Regions from separate parts of the Homo sapiens genome. Here all the other regions are linked to region 1. The links are contacts of gene promoters, found by promoter capture Hi-C in human tissues and cell types (Jung and others, 2019). All regions are on one chromosome and are shown on one strand. The core of a region is centred on a gene start or on the middle of the fragment in contact, and the rest is flanking DNA. Distances in the headings are between cores, read along the strand shown.

Evidence for each region. Contacts are between HindIII fragments. The study calls those that stand out against the background at their distance.
Region 2: a contact is called between a fragment that was not itself captured here and the fragment with the promoter of TUSC1 in region 1, in 1 of the 25 tissues and cell types used here (bladder).
Region 3: a fragment that was not itself captured here is called in contact with the fragment with the promoter of TUSC1 in region 1 in 1 of the 25 tissues and cell types used here (H1 embryonic stem cells).

Annotation. Positions count from the first base shown.
Region 1 is chr9:25,677,036-25,679,735 of GRCh38, reverse strand. TUSC1 (tumor suppressor candidate 1) reads left to right here and starts at 1,292. Exons shown (of 1, transcript NM_001004125.3): 1 at 1,292-2,700. The coding sequence starts at 1,424. The coding sequence ends at 2,053. The HindIII fragment of the contact is 15,020 bases long and covers 1-2,700 here.
Region 2 is chr9:25,642,263-25,645,046 of GRCh38, reverse strand. No RefSeq gene overlaps it. Among named protein-coding and RNA genes, the nearest start is that of TUSC1, 35 kb to the left of the region's middle. The HindIII fragment of the contact is 3,505 bases long and covers 1-2,784 here.
Region 3 is chr9:25,727,599-25,730,394 of GRCh38, reverse strand. No RefSeq gene overlaps it. Among named protein-coding and RNA genes, the nearest start is that of TUSC1, 51 kb to the right of the region's middle. The HindIII fragment of the contact is 6,496 bases long and covers 1-2,796 here.

The DNA.
Region 1 (2,700 bases), core at 43-2,542:
TCTGCCTCCCGGGTTCAAGTGATTCTCCTGCCTCAGCCTCCCGAGTAGCTGAGACTACAGGCCCGTGCCACCACGCCCGGCTAATTTTTGTATTTTTAGTAGAGACGGGGTTTCATTGTGTTAGCCAGGATGGTCTTGATCTCCTGACCTTGTGATCCTCCCGCCTCGGCCTCCCAAAGTGCTAGGATTACAGGCGTGAGCCACCACGCCCGGCCTGGAATGTGGTCCTTCTTAAAACTAAATTTATATTTTTTGAAATTCCAAAATTATATCTTTCATGTGATAAAATGAGATAATTGAGAACACATTTGGTGTTGTGGTCTCTTAAGATCTTGCCTAACAAAATAAAAGTACAAAAAAATTGAGCAAATATTTTCCCCTTATTTGTACTTGTCAATGAAGACCCCATGTATGTACTTATATGTTTTTCTTGTTCGTTACTTGCTCCAGTGGTTTGGAAATTTTGGTTATCCTGAGAATTCTCTGGGACCCTGTTAGACATGTAGATTCTTGCTAGGGCATACTTGCTTAAGAGATTCTGGCGTCAGTACCTAATCCTTAAATTACTTTGCAATCATCCAGTTACTATGTAGGTTGAGACCCTACAAGAAGGAATGATTCATTCAATGAGATGTACATCCTTGATCCCAGAAACTTTGGAACTAAGTATTCAGTTTCTTCAATAAACAGAGCACTTCTTGTTTCATAGCTTTTGGGGGTTGGCCTGAACAAATCAACTAAGTATGACCTAGTTTCTATAGCGTTCTGAACAATTTACAGAGTGAATTCCTGGCTGTTCACAAATTGGGAATTGACTGCATTCTTTGGAGAGCCAGGTGTTTCCACCGGGAAACCCCATGACAGGTACTCAGCCCAATTCTGTTTAATGTTTTATTAAACATAGGGGTGGGTTAAACCACTGGGTTTTAAATGAAGCACTTAGAGCTTTTCAACTTGCCCCATAGCTTTGTCTCAGAACCGATCATTCTATTATCATTAGTTTTGAGAATGCCGTGTAAAGAGCAAAGTAACCACTGGTGGTTGCACTCCGGAGCGGGCGAGGACGGCTAGTTCCTGCAGTGCCCAGGCCTGCACGGAAGCGCCCTGGCACAACTCAGCTGAGGATACACGCTTTTTCCCGCGCAGCCGGAGGGCTGAACAGCAAAGCACTCCCCGGGGGAACTGTGTGTCAGCGCAGCCTGGAGAGAGCAGGCCCAGGGGGCAGCTCCACCACAGGAGACAGGACACGCCTCAGTCTGGGCAAATTCCCGGCCTCCTTTGGCTCTAAGCCAGCAGCCGCCGCCCGCGACCTCCTCTCCTCCTCCGTCGTCACCCCGGCCGCCCTGCCAGCCCCGAACTTGCCCGCGCCTGGCCGCGCGGCCCCTCAGCCCACGGGGCTGGCGGCGCGGTTGGGATGGGACCGATGTGGCGCATGCGTGGTGGCGCCACTAGGCGCGGGAGTTGCTGCGGCGGGGACGGTGCTGCGGACGGCCGAGGGCCAGGCCGCTCCGGCCGGGCTCGTGGTGGGGGCAGCCCCAGCGGCGGCGGCGGCGGCGTGGGCTGGCGAGGCCGCGCGGACGGCGCCCGACAGCAGCTGGAGGAGCGGTTTGCCGACCTGGCGGCGAGCCACTTGGAGGCCATCCGTGCGCGGGACGAGTGGGACCGGCAGAACGCGCGGCTGCGTCAGGAGAACGCCCGGCTGCGGCTCGAGAACCGGCGGCTGAAGCGCGAGAACCGCAGCCTCTTCCGTCAGGCTTTGCGGCTCCCCGGCGAAGGCGGCAACGGGACGCCCGCGGAGGCACGCCGGGTCCCTGAAGAGGCCAGCACGAACCGGAGGGCTAGAGACAGCGGCCGAGAGGACGAGCCGGGCAGCCCCAGGGCCCTGAGGGCCCGACTTGAGAAGCTGGAAGCCATGTACCGCCGGGCCCTGCTGCAGCTGCACCTCGAGCAGCGGGGACCACGTCCGAGCGGGGACAAGGAGGAGCAGCCTCTACAGGAACCCGACTCCGGCCTCCGCTCCCGGGACTCGGAGCCCTCTGGGCCCTGGCTGTAGCCGAGGCCGCAGCCGGTGAGAGGCGGAGCCTCGAGCGGGCCCCTCCTCCTCCGTTCCCAGCTACCCCCGACCTCGCGCACGCCCTGGCCCGCTCCCTGCCCGCGGATACCTTGGACTACGGTGCCTTCCCGCCCCCACCAGTGGACACTTCCGGGTGGCGCTTGGCCATCCGCTTGGTGGAGGTCGAGTGGGTGCAAGGGCCCTCAGGACCTCCCACATGTACAGTTCCCCTGCCTCTTGCCCCGGCTAGTTTCCCTGGAGAGAGGCCTAGCCAACAACGAAGGGACGGATTTTAAAACAGCGAGAACTGGGTGCCAAGAAACACTTCATATTCCCTGAACTTTTCTGGATGTTGTGCGAACCTGTTGTATTTTTTTTTTTCCTGTATTTTGGTTCTGAGGGATGAGTAATGTGTTTTTAGTTGGTTGAGTTTATCCATTCTTCAATCCCCTAAAGCCTTCAGCTATTCTTTCATATGTGGCCAACATTTTAAGTACAGTGTTTGCTTTTATAAGTCGGTGTTACTTGGATGTCCTATAAAATACCCACTTTTTATAAAGATGATATTTATAACCTAGGAACTCATGCCTGTCTTGGCTGCAGTCCCTGTACATCTAATATATACTGATTTGTTTGCCCCCAGAGAA
Region 2 (2,784 bases), core at 200-2,699, 35 kb after region 1:
CGACTCAAATGGCTGTCAACTTACAGAACATCACCATCCTTCCAGAAAGTTCTCTAATGCCTCCCCCCATGTCAATTTGTGCACCATTCCATGAGGCAGCCAATGTTCTAATTTTTTCACCATGGATTAACTTTCATGTAGATAAAATATTTTGTGTAAGTCTCTTTTTGGGCCTTTTTTAAGGTATAAATTACAGAATTAACTTGTCAGTTTCTAAAAATATTTAACTTTGATTCATATATTGAATCTATATATAAATTTGTAGATCTCATAGTCCATGAGAGTGATCTATCCTTTGAGACATTTTAAATATATTTCAATAAAATTTTATATTTTTTACATAGCATTTACATATGTTTTCTTAGAAATTTCTTAAGTGCTTTACATTTGATAGCAATGATACATGATAGATATGATGATGATGATGATGAATGATGATTACTATATTCTGTGTTTCCTACTGGTGCACAGAATTTAATTTTATTGTAGTATATTGATGCCATGTATTCAGGCATATTGTTAAACTTATTATTTCTACACTTTTTTCTGTAATGCTTTTGATGTTTCAAAGTAGTAATTACAGCATCTGTGAATAATAATTTTTATATTGTTTACAATTCTAATAATCTTATTTTTTCCCTTTCTTTACCATGGTAAGACTTCCAAAAGCATGTGAAATAGAAGCAATTATAATGTACATCTTTACCATATTTTGTTTTTAAAAGGTCTGTTTTTAGGAAGATAACACTTTTTCTAGCTCTTTTTCATTTTTGCTAGTTTACACTTTGTGAAAACTTTCATAATGAATGTATTGAATTTTATTTTCTATAAAGATTGAGATGATCATACAGTATTCTCCTTTAATTTGCCAAGAAGCTAAAAAACCCACACATATTAAACCGCCCTTGTATTACTGGATTGACCTGGATTGATCATGGTGTACTATATTTCCTATGTAATGAATTTAGCTCTCTAAAACCTTGACATTTGCATCTATGCTCATGAGTAAGCTTGGCTTGTAGTCTATTACTTAAATGAAATTTATCATTTTATATTAAAATCTGCTTTTACTTTCTCACACTCCCTTCATACTCCACTTAAACTGCTCCCCTAATTTCAGTTAGTTTATACTTGCCAGCACTTCAGAGTTAAATAAATAATCCTTCGATTTTATCGATTTAACCCATCATAATGGATTTGGATTCTTTTCAGTTAGTTTGACCTTTTTCTTAGAAATAATGGCATTTTGTGGATACTGACGAAACCTAGAATAGACAAAGGCAAAGCTTTCTCATTTACTTGGGGAATTTTAGCAAATTTGATATAGGACCTATAAGACATTGGAGGACTCTATAGGAAACACAACTTGGCTCCTTACCCAATTTCAACACAGGTACTGTTTGACTAAGATTTGTTTAAATACAACACAAAAACAAACAACACTTTTTCTATAATTTATAGTAGGGTAAGAGGTTTATATGTTCATCTTTTCTAATGTCTTATTTTTATTCAGGTGTCTGAGGCCAACAGAATGGCTAAGATGCATTCTGGTGTTTCTAATTATATCTCTGTTCTATCACAACTATTATTTTTGCTAGGAATATAATTTTACTCCTCTTCCCTGCCCCCAAATTAAATATATTAACTTTAATTTTGCTTTGTTAGTTGTGAAAAAGAATGATAGGAAACATTTTTCTTTATGATTCCTGACTATTGACTCTTTCCTCCACTGCATTATTTTTTTCATTAAGATTATTTGAGGGTAGTAAAATAGTGCTATATATATATATAGTGTATATATGTATTACTGACAAACTAATAAATAAAAATTTTATTTTTTATCAATCCATGCATTTTCATTGCAGGATTGACTATGAAATAGGAAGCCACTTATATTTCTAAGGAGAATTTTGCCTCATAATTACCAGTCATGAAAATATTACTTCTATTATATAGATAACTATACCAATTTTAAAGGTTCATTTTAGAAGGCATTATTAATTGCCATTAGTGTTTAGCTGACTTCTGTTAAAAATGAAGATTATAAATTTCATTTAAGCTTTCATAATTCTGACAGATTTTCTGAAATAATGTTCTGTTTTTCCCACAAAATTAGTCCTGGGTTTCCTTACCTTGGTGATATTTCAGTAGCATTGCTTCAGCATTGTTATAGATAGGTATATGTCATTGCAATATTATTTGTTTGTTTTGTTTCCATGTGAAACTTTACTGTCTCTATGAAAAAAAAAAAAAACTATAAAATTCAGGACAAAATCTTGTCTTCTTTTTTTTATTATTCCAAACTCCTCATACTATACATGTGACTTATAGGAATTAAAGTGTGAACTCAATATATTGTGTCTGTGCGGTTAAATTTTCTACTATGAAAGTTAAATCTGGTAATCAGTTAAATATAATTATTTCATCAATGTGCCAGGTACTGTGTTAGGTATTAGGAGTGTTGCTATCAATAAACCAACCAGTTGCTACTAGTAATATATTTACAAAATGTGTTTGTATTCGTTTCTTCTTCCTGCTGTAACAAATTACCACCGACGTGGTCACTTAAAATAACACAAATTTATCTTACAGTTCTTGATGTTGCGAGTATGAAATTGGTCTCAATGGACTAAAATAGAGGGAATGGCAGGAATATGTTTTTTCTGAAGGCTCTAGGGCAGGGGTCCCCAACTCTGGCCACTGATAGGTACAGATCTGTGGCCTGTTAGGAACCTGGCCGCATACAAGAAGTGAGTGGCAGGCCAGCCAGCATTACTGCCTGAG
Region 3 (2,796 bases), core at 181-2,680, 51 kb before region 1:
TTGCCAGGGAGTAAAATCTTGACATTATTATTTTTCAATAACTTTCAGAAGATTGGCTAAGATAAACAATAATTATGCAGTATTTTTGGAATATAGACAAAGTAGTCGCTCATCTTAGTTCACCAAAACAGAATTTGCAACTGATGGCCAAACCTGGTCTTCATTTCCAGGCCTGCTTTCTTGGGTCTCCACAGGTTATTATTGTTACAAATTATATTTAAATCTCTTTAGTTTAGATAGGCTCTCACAGATATTTAATTTCTACTTATCTTGCCCTAATTTCTCTTACTTGCCTGAACTTTTGCATAAATGTTATTTTGAGGTCTTCACTTTAAAACTTCTTTTTTTGTGAAGCTGGACAGAAAGATATCACATGTAGAGAGCACATTAAGTTGATCCCTCTACTGAAGTAATTTTACTGATTTTAACTGTGTCATAATACTATTAAGCTATATTGAATACCATATTAAAAATAGCTCCATAACAGTCAACGTTGTATTTACTATCAGTCTGTCGTTAATTATGTTATTATATAATATGGAATCCTCTCTAGGAAAACCTATAAGGTAAATGCATTTTACCATTTACTGGAATAATTGTCTTTCTTAAACAATTGGCTTGTTTCTACACTATAGGTGCTGTGGCTGGCGTTATTGATTTTATTTTCTTCTGTCACATCTAGAGAACTTAGAATTAATTTTATGTCTTCCTTGAGCAAGGATGCAGGGCCTTGTTTTCTATGTTTTGTGTGTTCAACACATTACTGCCTCTATCTTGCTTTTCTGAATTTACTTTTATTCCCATTTTATTTACCTATTTATGCAGCTATATAAGTCTTCATAAATCCTGTTCATATACAGTAATATGCCTCTGCAAATCGATAAGAAAATGTTATATTGTTCCCATTACATATTATGAATTCCATCTTTACATGCTTTTGAGTTAATATTCTATTGTTATATGTTTATACCTGGAAATAGTGGACCTCAGTTTTCCATCAGAATCAAGAATCTACTACCCAGATTGGGCAAAACCTGTAAACAGAATGCCTACAAAATTTGATTTTGAGAAATTTCTTTATGTTTAAATATGCTGCACATTACGATAGCAAGAGAACTTGAGTCAGATCATTTTTTATTTTAGTCTAAATTTCTTTTTCAAGTCTCTGTCTCTTTTTAGATTCCAGGTATCTGAATGTGACAGCCTAGATGGAAATCTGCATGATTATTTAGTTCTATATGTCCTTCTTTTTAAAATAAATATTTTTGTTGTTTTAATGTTCTCAATGACTATGTAATAATATATATGAGTCCATAAGCTTTCTAGACATAGATGATCTTGATCAAATTGATCAAATAAATAATTTAATCAATTCAGCAAAATTACTAACTTAAAGTGTTCAGTCTTTGTTTTCTTTATCCACCAAACTGGCCTACAGTTTCATTTACTTCACTGACCTTACTAGTTGCTTGAGCCTCAGATTGACAGCCTAATGTACACACCAATAAATTCAAATTATTTTTTGTATACTTTGTACTTTTGTCTGTCTTGCCTGTTGTGAACACATATAAACTCAGGTACATACATCACAATAGTAAAATTAATCAGTATTTTTGTGTACTAAAGAAATTAAACATAAGCCAAGTGCACTACGTTTCAGGGCCTGCAATGTTTGCATATTCCAAGAATATGTACAGATACAGAACTTCACAGAAATACAAAGAAGTTGTAATCATAGTATCACATAGTGATAATGTAGGCCCAAGTTCTCATTTTCCAAATAAGAGAAAGCAATGATTTATCTCTACCTTTCAGTGGATTAAAATTAATAATTAGAGAAATCCAGAACTGATGCCTTATCAAATTCCAGAAACTGTGCACACTGCAAGAGGCACAGAGGTGAGATACATACAGTGGTTGAGGACTTACTGTTAGGAGGGGGGATAAGTGGAGGATCACAATAAAAGTGGAAAAAATGCTAAAACCAAGGGATATTTAACTGTCATTGAAATAGAAGCAGCATGAAGCAGGAGCACCTATCTCATCATTGAAATATTAGGGAATGCTGAGTTTGTTTGTTTGTTTTGAGACGGAGCGTTGCTCTCTCACCCAGGCTGGAGGGCAGTGGTGCGATCTGGCTCACAGCAACCTCCACCTCTTGGATTCACACGATTCTCTGGCCTCAGTTTCCCCAGTAGCTGGGACTACAGGCACGCAGCACCACACTCAGCTATTTTTTTTTTTGTTGTTATTTTTAGTAGAGACAGGGTTTTACCATGTTGGCCAGGCTAGTCTCAAATTCCTGGCCTCAAGTGATCCAACTGCCTCAGCCTCCCAGTGTGCTGGGATTACAGGCGTGAGCCACCACACCCGGCCTCTAGGGAGTGCTTTTGAGAAGGGATGACTCTGGAGCTGTGTCTTGAATGCAGTGAAGTGGATATGTGAGGAAGAATATTCCAGCAAGAGAAAGGCCTTGCTTAAATCACGTAAGTGTGAAAGAGCACTATGCTTTGAAGACTTAGCAGTAGATTCACAGGACTGGTAAAAATAATGCATGTACCCTCACAGGAGGACCATAGGAGAACCTCCTAATTATATGAGTTCAAGCAAGTTTCCCAGAGACTCTGGGCCTCTATTTCCTTTCTTAAATGTGTGGTAGTGCTTAATGCCTACCTTGCGGCATTATCTCCACAGCAGGAGAAGAAGCTGGAAGGCAGGCAGGGTAGAGAAAAATCCTGGTCCAACCAGATGAGAAAGTCTAAACTTATCCTAAATGCAAGTGGGAGCAACTGGTAG